Linked DNA regions of Homo sapiens: region 1 is linked to region 2. Evidence: promoter capture Hi-C in 16 types of primary human blood cells and fetal thymus (Javierre and others, 2016). All regions are on one chromosome and are shown on one strand. The core of a region is centred on a gene start or on the middle of the fragment in contact, and the rest is flanking DNA. Distances in the headings are between cores, read along the strand shown.

Region 1 (6,591 bases), core at 1,766-4,265, 1.3 Mb before region 2:
GGGACTTTTTTGTTGATTCTGTTGTTGTAGCTTCCTGTTTATTTTTCTTTTAACAGTCAGGCCCCTCTTCCATATGGCTGCTGTGGTTTGCTGGGGGTCCACTCCAGACCCTGTTCTCCTGGGTCCCTTCTACCCCTGGAGGTGTCACAGTGGAGGCTGCAGAATAGCAAAGATGGCTGCCTGCTCCTTCCTCTGGGAGCTCCATCCCAGAGGTGCACCAACCTGATGACAGTGGGAATACTCCTGTATAAGGTATCTGGTGACCCCTGTTGGGGCATCTTACTGAGTCAAGAGGCACAGGATCAGAGACCCACTTAACAAAGCACTCTGGCTTCCCCTTGGAGGAGGGAGTGCGCTGTGCTGGGGGAGTTCCACTCGTCCAGAGTGCCCGGATTCCTCAGAGACAGCAAGGAAAAAGACTAAGTCAGCTAATCCACAGAGACCATGGCCACTTTTCCCCCCAGGGGCTCCATCCCAGGGAGATCAGTGCCCTGTCCATAAACCCCTGGCTGGAGTTGCTGAAATTTCCACAGCGAGGTCCTGCACAATGAGGAGGGATGCATCCAGGTCAGGCCTAAAGCAATAGTCTGGTCACAGTCTGCCACAGCCACTGTGCTGCACTGTGGGGAATTCCTCCTGGGTTGAAACTGCCCAGTCTCCCAGTATCGGCAGGGGAAAATTGCAGACTGGAGCTGCAGTGATGGTTGCCAGCCCTACCCTCAGGAGCTTAGTCATCTTAGGCAACAGGCAGCCAAAGTGATGGCAGCCACCCCTCCTGCCAGAACTCAGTAGTCTTAGGCAGTCTCAGCCAAGCAGCCACTAAAAATCTGCACAAGTCAGGTTGCACAGATCCATGTTTTAAGCATGATTTCCTGGCCAAGGTAGCACAATCACTCACCACATCCCTTGGCTGGGGGTGGGAGCTCCCCTTGCCCCATGTGCCTCCCGGGTAGGCCATCACTCTATCCTGCTTCTCCTCACTTTCCATGGGTCGCTCCAACTGCCTAGTCAGTCCCAGTGAGAGAACCTGGATACCTTAGTTGCCAGTGCAGGATTCACTCTGTTTTTGTTCTTCTCAATGGGAGCCTCCAAGAGCTGTTTCTAGTCAGCTATCTTCCCAAATTACCTTTTTTTCTTACATAAAAACTCACATTGAAAAACTCACAGTTATCCAAAAACCCCTCAACCAAACAACTATTTATGCTTGTTAAAAGAAAAACTTCAGCTAAAATACATTTAAAGGAGTTTAATTGAGCAATGAACAATTCACAAATTGGGAAGCCCCCAGGATCACAGCAGATTCAGAGAGACTCCAGGGGTACCTCATGGTCAGAACAAATTTAGAGACAAAAAAGTAAAGTGATGTACAGAAATCAGAAGTAAGGTATAGAAACAGCTGGATTGGTTACAGGTTGGCATTTGCCTTATTTGAATACAGTTTGAACACTCAGCAGTGTATCAGTGGTTGAAGTACGGTTGCTGGGATTGGTCAAGACTGAGCTATTGTTACAGGTGCATACTACTAAGTGAGGTTTTCAATCTTGTCTACCTAGTAAGTTACGCTGCAGTTCATCTAAAAGGATTCAAATATAGAAATACAGAGTCCTTCTCAGGCCATATTTAAGCCTCAACTTTAACATGCTGTTAGCATGTCATGTTTGTTCTTTGTTTGTGGAATTGAAATTAGAAATGAAAATCTCTGCCTTGACCTATGCTCATGGAGAAATAGCTACAGTAGAAAAGTCTCTGACCAAGAGATAGCACCCTTAAGCCATCTCAGGACTACAAAGGACTTCTTATTGGAGATGGACATGATTTATCTTTTTCTTAAGTTTAATGCCTCCTCTAGTGCCCAGGAATCTCTATCCTTCCCTCGTAGCCCTTCAAACAGTTTTTTGTCCTTACTCTACAGCAAGAGCAGGATTTTGAGTGATTTGCACTTTCTAGGTTCAAGTGAAACTATTTCAAATAATCCCTGTTTCCATCTCCAAGTATCTGTGGTGCTGGGAAACAAATAGAAAAGACTGAAAATGATGGTTTCCAAAAGCAATCTCCCAATAGTATTCTTCCTCAAAATAATATTTTATAAAATAGGTGGCTATTTATAGGTCCATTTATGTACAGAATCAAAAGGCCTGAGTATAAAAGTAGCTAATCATTTTTGCTTTCCTCCAGCTGAATTATTATTGATATTAATGGGAGAAAAATAAACTGTTTAAACAAGAGTGATCCTCAATGAACAGGGCTAAAGTGAAAAAATAGACAACTTAGGAATTGGATTAATAAAGGCTGAGGAAGATGGATCAAACAAGTTCTAGCTATTGCTCAGAAACAATCCAGATGACTGTTTGAGAATTACAAAGTTCAAAAGAGGAATTCAAGCTTGACCTGTAATAACTTTGAGAAAGGATGTAGAGCAAGCTGACAGCATCATTGTTAGAGAGGGTTGCTTGAATATGGATATGAGACCAAGAAGTTGAATAAGAGAGTTGGCATGGATAGATGGTTGAAAATAAAATCACGTTCCCCTTCAGCAAGTTTCACATGCAAGGAGAAAGGTGTGTGAGTAAAGATAAAGCAGGCTTTTTTCCTTTCCAAAGGGAGATTCTTCTTTGAGAGATCTGCCAGTCTGCCTGCCTGCCTGCCTGAGGTCCTGACTTCTCTAGGAAATTGTTTAGGGTCTGCATTGTTATATTTTGGAAGATTGTCTACATTCTGAAAACACCATGATGGAGTGCTGCCCAAGCACTGAAGAGTGGGTAGTCAGAAGTTGCTGTTCCTTTCCCAGGGTTATTTCTCCACGGGGGGTGCAAAAGTAGCCATTTTCCTTTTTCAGTGGCACTGTGGTTGACTGGACACTTATGACATAAGAACTATACTTCTTTGGCCAAATGCTATTCTTATTTCAAAGTGTTTTTTGAATAGGGCTTGGTCTGAAAAAGGGAGATAGAGAAGTCTTAGTATGAAGAGGCAGTCTGTGTTTTGATCATTCTTCCTATTTCTTGTGCATGGGGTGAGAAGTCTTTTCCTAACAGAAAGTCAAAGGGCATTATTGTTTCTTCCTCATACATCAGTCCCCTACCAAATTGTGTAGAAAATTGGTAGCAAAAGAGAACTGTAGGGGAGAGAGAAGGAAGAGGGAGAGAGTGACATTCTTGTGTATTGTCAAAGACATATATGCGTCGCAACAGGAGGGCGATGATTCCTTTGGGGTTTGAAAGATAAAAAAGGATTTTGGTTTTTTTTTAACATTGAAATATGACTTGTTCTTGAAATTTCTCAGAATACTTTTTAAAATCTTTATTGCTTCACATGTGTCATTTCTGTCCATGTAAAATCACAAGAGTTTCTCTGAATTTTAGCAGACTAGGTAGCACACAGTAGGTCAATAAAACCTTGAAACTTAAGACTACTCTCCAATGAAATTGGTTTTCCTAAGCCACTTATAAATTAAGCAGAGAGAAAATGATTTCACAAGTTTTTACAGACAAGATGGCTTTTCATATTCCATTAAAGCTCTGGTGCTAACATAAAAATAAATTAAAACATATTATATTAATATGTATTGGTTTTTGTTCATTTTTATATATTGAAGGTGAATTGAATTATTACTACATAATAAAACATACATTTTTCAAATGAAGCTTTATTTGTAAGTTTGATGATTAGACTTCTAAATGTGTTTTTGGCTTCTTGCCTTTAAAAATAAATGACTATGATAGGAAAAAAAAGAAAAGAAAAGAAAGTTTATTCTTCTTAAATTGCTTAAAGCAAAGGAACATTTCAACTTTCAATATGAAACATGGCCTGAAAGTTAAAATGAAGAAAGGTGAAGAAAGAGATTGATTTAAAATGATGGTTTAGAATTTATAATTTTGTATTCAAAAACAAAAATGGTAGAAAGAGGAATAGAAATAATGCTTTCGTGACTTTGCTAAGCAAAACTCACACTTCTATAATTACAATTGTAGAAAAGAGTTATTACAAGAAATAATTAACAAAATAAATACAAAATATGAAAGTAATAAATTACTCAAGAGCTTCTGAATAATCCTACAACTAAGGAAGAGTAATAAGAATCTGTTGTCTATCTTAAAAGATATTTTTAAAAATAATATACATGAAAAATACCTGTAACGTACTGCTTTTTAATAGCTTAGAGATGAGTAAACGTAATTTTTAAAATCCGAATTAAATCTTGATAAATTCAAAGTCATTTGCTTTTTTTCTATATAGCTTTTCCCTACTAAATCAGTGTGCTGAAAAATCTATTTCAAGCCACACGTGTATTATTTCCATATCACCTAAGTGAAGTACTTTACAGAATTTTTTTTTCCTTTCAAAAGTTTTTGGAGTACAAGTGGTTTTTGGTTACATTGATGAATTGTATAGTGGTGAAGTTTGAAATTTTAGTCCGGATATCACCTGACTACTGTACATTGTACCCAATATGTAGTTTTTTATTCATCGCCCTCCCAACCTTCTGAGTCCCCATGGTCCATTGTATTACTCTGCACGCCTCTGCGTACCCATAGCTTAGCTCCCTCTTATAAGTGAGAACATACAGTATTTGATTCGTCATTCCTGAGTTACTAAGTTTACTTTAAAGAAAAAGTGACAAGCGCTTCAGCTTGCACTAACACTAAAGTTTATATGAATCATCCACATGTAGGAAAATATTCATAAAAGATCACAAAAAGATTACTGAAGGTGGCTCCCATTAGATATCTTATTTAAATTGAAATCAGTGTGCCAATTGAAATTTTAATTTAATCTGATAGCTACTACACTCTAAGAATCACTCATTAGGGAATGATTTACTATCTAATTAACTCAAAAAGGCATAAGTCATAAAAGTACATTTATTTCTTAATTAACGCATTAGTTGTGACAGGAATCCCTGTATGTTTTACATTATGTTACCAACATAACCCAGGGGAAATAATTTTAATGAACATGTATTAATAGCCTTTTGAACATAATCTTCAATGGAGTAGTTCAAACAAAGCAAATGACTTAATCATCTTCAACATTTTTAATTACTGTTTTTGAATTCAAAGAGAAAGAAAAATTATTTAAAGTTATGGTTATGGTTTCCTTCTAATTATATTTTTCTTTGTCTTTATTTCTAAGAGCCATGGGGTATGAGAATCTCTAGTCTACAAAAAATATTTCTTTTTGTCAAAATTATCAATTTTCATGAATATTTTTTGAATGACATCTGTGAGCCCAGAATGAAATAGTATTTTTAGTAAAATGAAAAGTATAAGAGCAGACCAGCATATGGTCACAACGTAAGAAGCTTAACATTTATTTTAGAATACAAGTCTACTTATATGAAAATGCTTTAAAGTAAAAAGTATACATTGCATGAAAATTTTTAAAAAATATATTTCAAAATGTAAAATAAAACAACATACAAAACGAAAAGAGGAATAAATTCCATGGCTTCAGATAAAAATATTTCAAGGGAACTGGAAAGACTTAAATGAAATTGATCTCATGAAGAAGAAAGGGGAACATCATATAAAAACAGAAATGATAGAGTGTGTTGTCATATCATTTTAATATCAGAAGGGATTATAAAAGTGATCTAACTGAGATACCTACTCAATATCATGCCGAAAGTCAAATGCTGATATCAATCTAGTATGGGTGCTTGTGCAAGAGAAAGAGAGAGAGAGAGAGATTTACTAAATGCTAATTATATGTCAAGGACTCTTCTAAGCACTTTAAATATTATTTTATTTAATCCCTTCCAAATTCTATGAAGGAAATAGTTTTTTTTCAATTTGACATTGTTTAAGAAAACAAAGATCAGAAGGGTTAAGTAGCTTGTTTGATTACACAGTAAAAGTCTAAGCCAACATGTGAACCCCAGCTGGTTAATTCAAATAACATAATATTGCATATTGCCTATAATATTGCAGGGTCATATGGGATGGTCTGAAGGCATGAGCTCTGGATCAGGGCTACCTGGGTTTGGATCTCTGCCCCACTTTTTGCTTGCTCTGGGTCTTGGAATGAATCACTCAAAAGCTCTGAGGCTCAGTTTCTTTGTCTGCAAAATGGGAAAAATAATGATACCTAACTCATTGGACTGGTAAATGAATAATATATAAAATAATAAAATAGTATCTGGTTTATACTAACTATTTAAAATATATTAATAGTAGTGGTAACTGTACTGCTATACTAAACCTTTGTAAAAGGATATGTTCCGCCTATGAAGGAATTAATTGAAAGCAGGGTTTTGTTCCTAAGGTGAGCAATGTTTACCATGCCCCCAGAATGTGCAGTATTGTTCCTATTTGCAAATCTGTCTATCTTTTTTTATAGAAAAATATTCATTAGCCAGATGCCACAGTCAACTCTACTGTTTAGTAAGCTCAACTGTCTTCATTTGGACCAAATGGTGGGCAGCATACTGGAAACCTTTAGTGAAGCTCTGCTTGAGTCCATTAGTACCAGATGACAAAGACCTTTTTTTTTTCTTTTTTTTCCATTATTTTCAACTTTTATTTTATGTTGAGGGATACCCATGCAGGTTGGTTATGTAGGTAAATTACATGTCGTGGAGGTTTGGGTTTC
Region 2 (6,434 bases), core at 3,335-5,834:
GAGATGGAAAGGTGGCTTTATCCAAAACCCCAGGAAATCAACCTGAGGCACCCGTAAACTAGTAAGAACTCTTCAAAGGGGCTAGCAGCTCACTACCCTGAAATGGAGGAAGCCTAACCAAAGTGGGGTCCAGCAGGGCACACTCTATGGTGGAATGAAGAGCGCACTGAGGCTGAGGGATGGCAGGAAGAGAAGGCAAGGGACCAGGTGGTAAGAAGCTCATTCAGGATAAAAAAAGAGGAAACCCACAAGTGAACTTGAGTAATTGGTGACTTTTCTGAGCTTCAGTATCCTCTTCTGTAAAAAGAGATGGGTAAACCAGAAGGTCTGAAGCCTCCCTTTGATTTCACAAGTCCATGTTTTTATGCTTGGGGTTGCATGGAACACATGCAGTAGCAAAGAGCCCAGGGGTCAGGCCCACCTACAAGCCACCCCTGCTCCACACTGGGGTGGGCAGGTCTGCCTTTCCAAGTCTCAGCGTCCTCTGGAGCCTGCAAGCAAAGAAGTGTGGCACACAGGCAGTCACCTCCTGGGAGAAGCCCAAGGGTAGATACAGTACTTCTAACTACTCTCATTTTTTTTTTTTTTTTTTTTTTTTGTAAATAAGAGCACCTGGAATAAATTGAATACTAAGTGTACATAAGCAGCATACATTTCACTTACTATACTCTACCACATGTTGTACGTGCTGCTTGGGATAAAGTGTTCTCTCTTCTGAATGTTTTTACACAGCTTGCTACTTTAGAGTACATACTTAATATTATCCATTCCCACCGCATTGAAAGAGGCCTGCCAAAAGTTAAGGATGCCAAAAGAAAGGCAGGAGTGCAGCGCACATGCTGGAGAAGGAGAAACTCTCTAACCACTTTTAACATCTTGTTTTTATCAAGACTCTCATGTCAAATGAAGATTATTCCAGGACTATGAGAAAAACGCCAGAAAATGGGCCCTTTTGAGTGCAAATTCAGGAGAATGCCCAGGTGTGAAGCACAGTTGACCTTCAGCAACACTGAAAAATTGGAAACATTTGTGTTGTGTCATCTTCTCCTACCTCTTCTTTTAGAAAATTTTCCTCTCTTTCCTACCTCACAGCTTCCCACTCTGCCTCCTCTTCCCCTGCACCTCTCCAGGACCCCATCATTTATATCACAGTCTTCAAAGCATCCCTCCCCAAACTCCAGTCCTTCTGGCCAGCTTTTGGGGAAGAAATTGCACTCACAATTTAATCCATACTAAATGTTAAAATCTGATAATGGTTGAACTTGGCCTTTCAAAAGTTACCTGCAGTTTAGAAAACATGTAGGCACAAAGTGTCATGCCAAAGGAAAAAAAATTCCAGTGACAGATGTTCAGGTCAGTTGGACAAAACAGTCTGAGGAATGAGACCATAGATTTTTCAACTTTTCAAACAGGTCTAGAAATCTGAGCCATAATGTAGTAGGAAACTGTGGCTACTATTAACTCTTCTCCATGTTTTCTGGTCAGTTTTATTTGTTTTGGGGGGTCTCCTCATGGTTTGGTCAACTATCAGTAAACATCCAATATGTGAGAAAATAATATACTGTACTTAAATTTATGTCCAGGTTGGGCTACATAGAAATAGATGAAATTTGTCATTTTTAGATTTGTATTCTTGTCAGTCTATTGCCTGGTACAGGTATCCTTTAAAAAAAGAGTAGTCTCTTTGGGGACTTGGGAAGAAAGGGTGGGAAGTTGGGGAGGGACAGGACTACAAACTGGATTCAGTGTATACTGCTTGGGTGATGGGTGCAACAAAATTTCACAAATCACCACTAAAGAACTTACTCATGTAACCAACTACCACCTGGTCCCTAAAACCCTATAGAAATAAAAAATTTTAAAAAAATTGGTAGTCTCCACAAGTCTGGATGAGTTATTCTACATTTCCCTTTTAATGTCTTGTCCTTAGCTAGTTATAAAGTTAGCAGAGTTCTCAACCTGAGTACTAGTGACATTTGGGGTCAAAAATGTTTTTGTTGAGGGTATTATAATGTGTATTGTAGGATGTTCAGCAGCATCCCCGGCCTCTACCTGCCAGATGCCAGTAGCACCCTTCCAGGTTACAGCAACCAAAAATGTCTCCAGGCATTGTCAAATGTCCCCTGGGAGGCAAAATCGTCCCCATTTGAGAACCACAGAGTTAAAGTAAGATTACAAAAATGAAAACCCAACTCACAGTTAGGAAGAAAAAGTTAACGGTTGTTTTTACAACGGTGGTAATGTGGTATGCAATTCAAAATTATGTCCACTGGCTAACCTCTACATAGTTTTATTCTAAGGCGAATCGGGTATCAAAATCTTCAAAGAAAAAATGATTCAGCAACTAATAGAGTCTGAAAAAAAAAGAGTATTAGGGGAAGCCCCAAATATTAATTTAATTTAAAGGGAAATTCTTCTGTCTTCTGGTCATAATACATGCTTTTTAATAAATAATTTGTGATACTAGAAAGAACAAAACCAATTGGGACACACAGCACCTTGCCCTTGTCAGCTGAGATGGCGTAGCAGACAACTGCAGAACAAACTTCAATCACAAAGATAATTTTTTGAAATAGATGAGTTCAAGTTACCAGAATAGAGAACTAGCACTAACCCATCTAATAGGTTACAAGCATCTTTTCAGTTTTACGGGATTAAGTGATTGATAAAATTTTTAAATTATGGCAAGCCTGAAAAAAATTAAATACTTGCCTCTCTTGCAGGTTGCTATTTTGGAAGCAATAAAGACTCAGCTCATATGAAAGTGTATTGCCCATTCTTCTGCCAATTCACGTTTGGTTGTAGAATTTTCTTCTCTTCCAGCCCCCCTCCACCTCCCCTCATGACATCCCATTAGCATCCCAAGACAAAGGCAGAACTACAGGGGAGTGGCGCTGGGACCCCTGTGGGTCTTTTCTCAGGCAATGAGAGAATCAGATTCTCCACCTGGAACCCATAAAGGAAGGAACGCCATAACACACAGCTTTTAAAACACATGTTTACATACACTTACAGGAGGACAGGTTACAATATATTCTAGTCCTCTTTCTCTCACTTCAAATTCCATCAGTGTTGTAAATCGGCTCATCTTATGCCCCTTTCTTTCTCTTTCCTCTAGACCAGTGGCTCTCAAAGTGTGATGTGATCAGCATCCCCGGGGAACATGTTAGAAATGCAAATCTTCAGCCCCCACTCCAGACTTAGGGAATCCCCTAAAGTCCAAGCACTCCTTATTTAGGCCAGTGTTCTTTCTAGAACCACAAACATTGTTTCTTACAGAAAGCAAAACTGCAATTCTCATTTCATCCTCAAGCCTGCTGCAAGGTAGTAATATATTAGCCCCACGTGAGCGATGAGGAAACCGGCTCTGGGGTTAAGCGTCGGCTCAAGGTCTCAAAGCTAGTCACTGCAGGTGGAAGATTAAAGTGTTTGCACTTCTTTTCACTACTGAAACAAAGCTATGGCACTTTATTAACAACATCTGGATTTTTTGCTGGTTGGCTGGTTGGTTTTTGTTTTTGCTCTTTCAGCTTTCGTCAATTCGGAAAAATATAAAACAGAGTGGGTGAGAGTAGTGTGCCATATGCCTCGGGTCGTCCCGAGTCGGAATTTAAGGGCAGGACTCTAGAAAGGTGTTTTTCCAGTAAAGACCGTTTCGTTCTGCTGCGGTCCTTCCTGTCTTTGTCCCCGGGACAGCACGCAGCAGATAGAAGCGGCCAGAGCTGCATGGCGGGGCCGCGGGCATCCCCGACGCGACAGGTTGTCCGCGGGAAGACAGCCAGTCCGCGAGGCCCCGGCGCGCCGCGGCTCCGGGCCGGGGGTACTGGTTTACAGGGCAAATTGGCACACCCCAAAGCCCAGGGGACACCCGGGCCTACGCCGCAGCCCGGAAAGGAGGGGGTGAGTGGTGAACCCGAAACCGCCGAGGGCCGCGCGGCCAGAAACCACACGGAGCGCTAGGGTCGCAGTGAAGATCCGGGAGGAGGGTGCAGGCTGGAGGGGAGAGAGCGGGCGAGAACCCACGAAATGGAAATGAGGCGGAGAGAGCGGGTCGGCACTCACTGTGAGGGTCGCTCTTCTCCCGGACCCCGTCAACTCGGCCGTCGGGGTGGATGCGCAGGAAGAAGCCCCCGTTTTTGCAGTACAGCCGCTTGGGGTCCTTGAAGTGGCCGGGCGGGAAGGCGCCGCTGCCGCCATCCTCGGGCAAGGCGGGCAGCGTGGTGATGCTCCCGGCTGCCATGGTCCCTGCGGGGCCCGGCCGGGATCCCCGAGCCGCTGGAGCCGCGCGGGGAGCCGCCGTCCCCCGGCCCCGGCCCCGGCCTCCGACCCGCTCCGGGGCACGGCCCCGGCCCCGGCCCCCCAGCCTCCCGCCCGGCAGCGCGCGGCCGCGCCCGCGGTCCCCCAGCCTCGAGCCGCTCGGCCGCTCTTCTGTCCGCCGGCCCCTGGTGCGCGGCGAGCCGGCGGCCCGGGACCTGGGGTTCACGGATGGGTGTCTCCGCGGACGCCGCCTGGGGAGAGCCGCCTCCCAAGCTGCAGCGCCCGGGATCCCGTTGCAACCGCGGGCACCGCGTCCGCTAATCTGGCACCCGCCGGGCCGCGGCGTCACATCTTCTACATCTCCACCCCCCACACCCACCAGCCTCCCGCGCCCCCAGTTCTCCTCCCTCCTGCGCGCCGCCCCCTACTCGCTCGGGTTTTCTGGGGCCGGCCTCTGAGTTCGGCGGTTCGGCCACAACACGCAAGCGCGCGACATCAGTCCGGCGGGGAGCCCGGCCTCAGTCGGGGGCGGGGGAGAGGCGAGGGGCGGGGGGCGCGCGTCGGAGGCCGCGGCAGGGCTTTGGCATTCCCTGGGCTCCACCGCCCCTTATCCCCCAAAAGTCACCCCCGCCCAACCCCCGCACCACCCAAACCACGTTTAGGCTTTCTCCACACTGCGGGGCTTTTGCTGCGCAACCAGCCGTGACTCAACTTTTAAAAGTTTAAACTCAACTTTCTCCCCCATTTTTTCCCCGCTAGCGTTTCAAAACGGAGAAGCCGTTTCCACCCCAAAGTAGAGAAGTTGCAATCCAAGGAAGAGTCTGTGTCAGAGCAGGCTTTGAAAATCTCTAAATCACCAAAAGACGAGGGGTACAAGTGGGGCATAAACTTTAAAATTAAAGGACAGAGGCTGAAGTCGTCTACCAACAAAAGGAGAGAAAGAGGCCAGAGAAGGGGAGCAGATTGGGTTGCTAAAACGAAAAGGTTTCCTTTACTGACCTATCTTGAATTAGACGACGCAGAAAGATGAGGATGGGGATAAGGATAAATCCTTATCGCGATCGAAGCGCATTAATGTCTTAACTCGGACCTGGCATTTGCCCTAGCTAAATTGTTATGCATTTCTTGGAGAGAGAGTTATTTTCTGTAAATCCCAAATGTAAAATTGAAGTTAATTGCATTTTGGTAATTTTCAGTAGGATATAGCAGGTGCCACAGATGACTAGGAAAATATCTATTCAGAAAACTTGCATGTATTGAGTACCTACTGTGTGCAACACATAATGTTGAGTGTGTGGGAGATGCCAAATCTGATGCCAGCGTCTCACACACTGAGGGAGATAAGATGGGTAGCATGAGTAACACAAATAGCAGTAGAAAGTAGGCCATAGAAGAGTAAGACTAAGTGCTGTGACATTTCAGACATCGGATAACTCAGCGTGGGGAGGCAGGAGATTTGGGGAAGCTTCTAGAAGGAGTTGCAAGTATGGACGTGCCTCCTTGTAGAAACATTAGGTTTCAAAAGGCCATGCATAAGTGCATTTGTTCTTAAGTCTCCAAGAAGGCTTTAACTCCAGATGCATTTCTAGAATGTTACATACAGGAGAATGAGTAAATTCTTTGAAGCTTTAAAACCAGGCATACTGTTTTTATTTTTATTATTTATTTATTTTTTTTAGACAGAGTTTTGCTCTTGTTGCCCAGGCTGGAGATCAATGGCACGATCTCGGCTCACCGCAACCTCCACCTCCTGGGTTCAAGCGATTCTCCTACTTCAGCCTACCGAATAGCTGGGATTACAGGCATGCGCCACCACCACGCAGGGCTAATTTTTTGTATTTTTAGTAGAGACGGGGTTTCTCCATGTTGGTCAGGCTGGTCTCGAACTCCCAACCTCAGGTGATCTGCCCGCCTCAGCCTCCCATAGTACTGGGATTACAGGCGTGAGCCACCGCGCCAGGCCCAAAACCAGGCATATTCTTCTTTCTTCTTGCAGTTGGTATATGTTCTATAGAGGAGGAAAAAAAAAATTTCCCCATTCATTACTAGGTTTATGGCTGAAGCCCCTGTAACAAAAGACACATTAACAAGAGAAAAACATACTAACTTATTTATGTGAGTTTTACACAAAACAGGAGACTTCAGAAATTAAGACCCAAAGTTAAGAGGGAAGCCTG

What was found. The method cuts DNA at HindIII sites, captures the fragments that hold promoters and counts their contacts. A CHiCAGO score of 5 or more calls a contact.
Region 1: a fragment that was not itself captured here is called in contact with the fragment with the promoter of FGF2 in region 2 in 1 of 17 cell types (M2 macrophages); the score reaches 5.4 in M2 macrophages.

The regions. Positions count from the first base shown.
Region 1 is chr4:124,161,888-124,168,478 of GRCh38, reverse strand. The region is part of intron 2 of LOC105377407 (a long non-coding RNA gene); the gene reads left to right. Among named protein-coding and RNA genes, the nearest start is that of LINC02516, 390 kb to the left of the region's middle. The HindIII fragment of the contact is 1,262 bases long and covers 2,385-3,646 here.
Region 2 is chr4:122,824,981-122,831,414 of GRCh38, reverse strand. It overlaps FGF2 (fibroblast growth factor 2), which reads right to left and starts at 4,584. Exons shown (of 3, transcript NM_001361665.2): 1 at 4,063-4,584. The coding sequence starts at 4,240. RefSeq lists enhancers at 3,052-3,101, 2,628-3,153, 3,142-3,281, 3,154-3,679, 3,962-4,041, silencers at 3,627-3,921, 4,262-4,741, cis regulatory regions at 5,241-5,279, 5,280-5,350 and promoters at 4,407-5,374, 4,543-5,725. The HindIII fragment of the contact is 8,047 bases long and covers 1-5,724 here.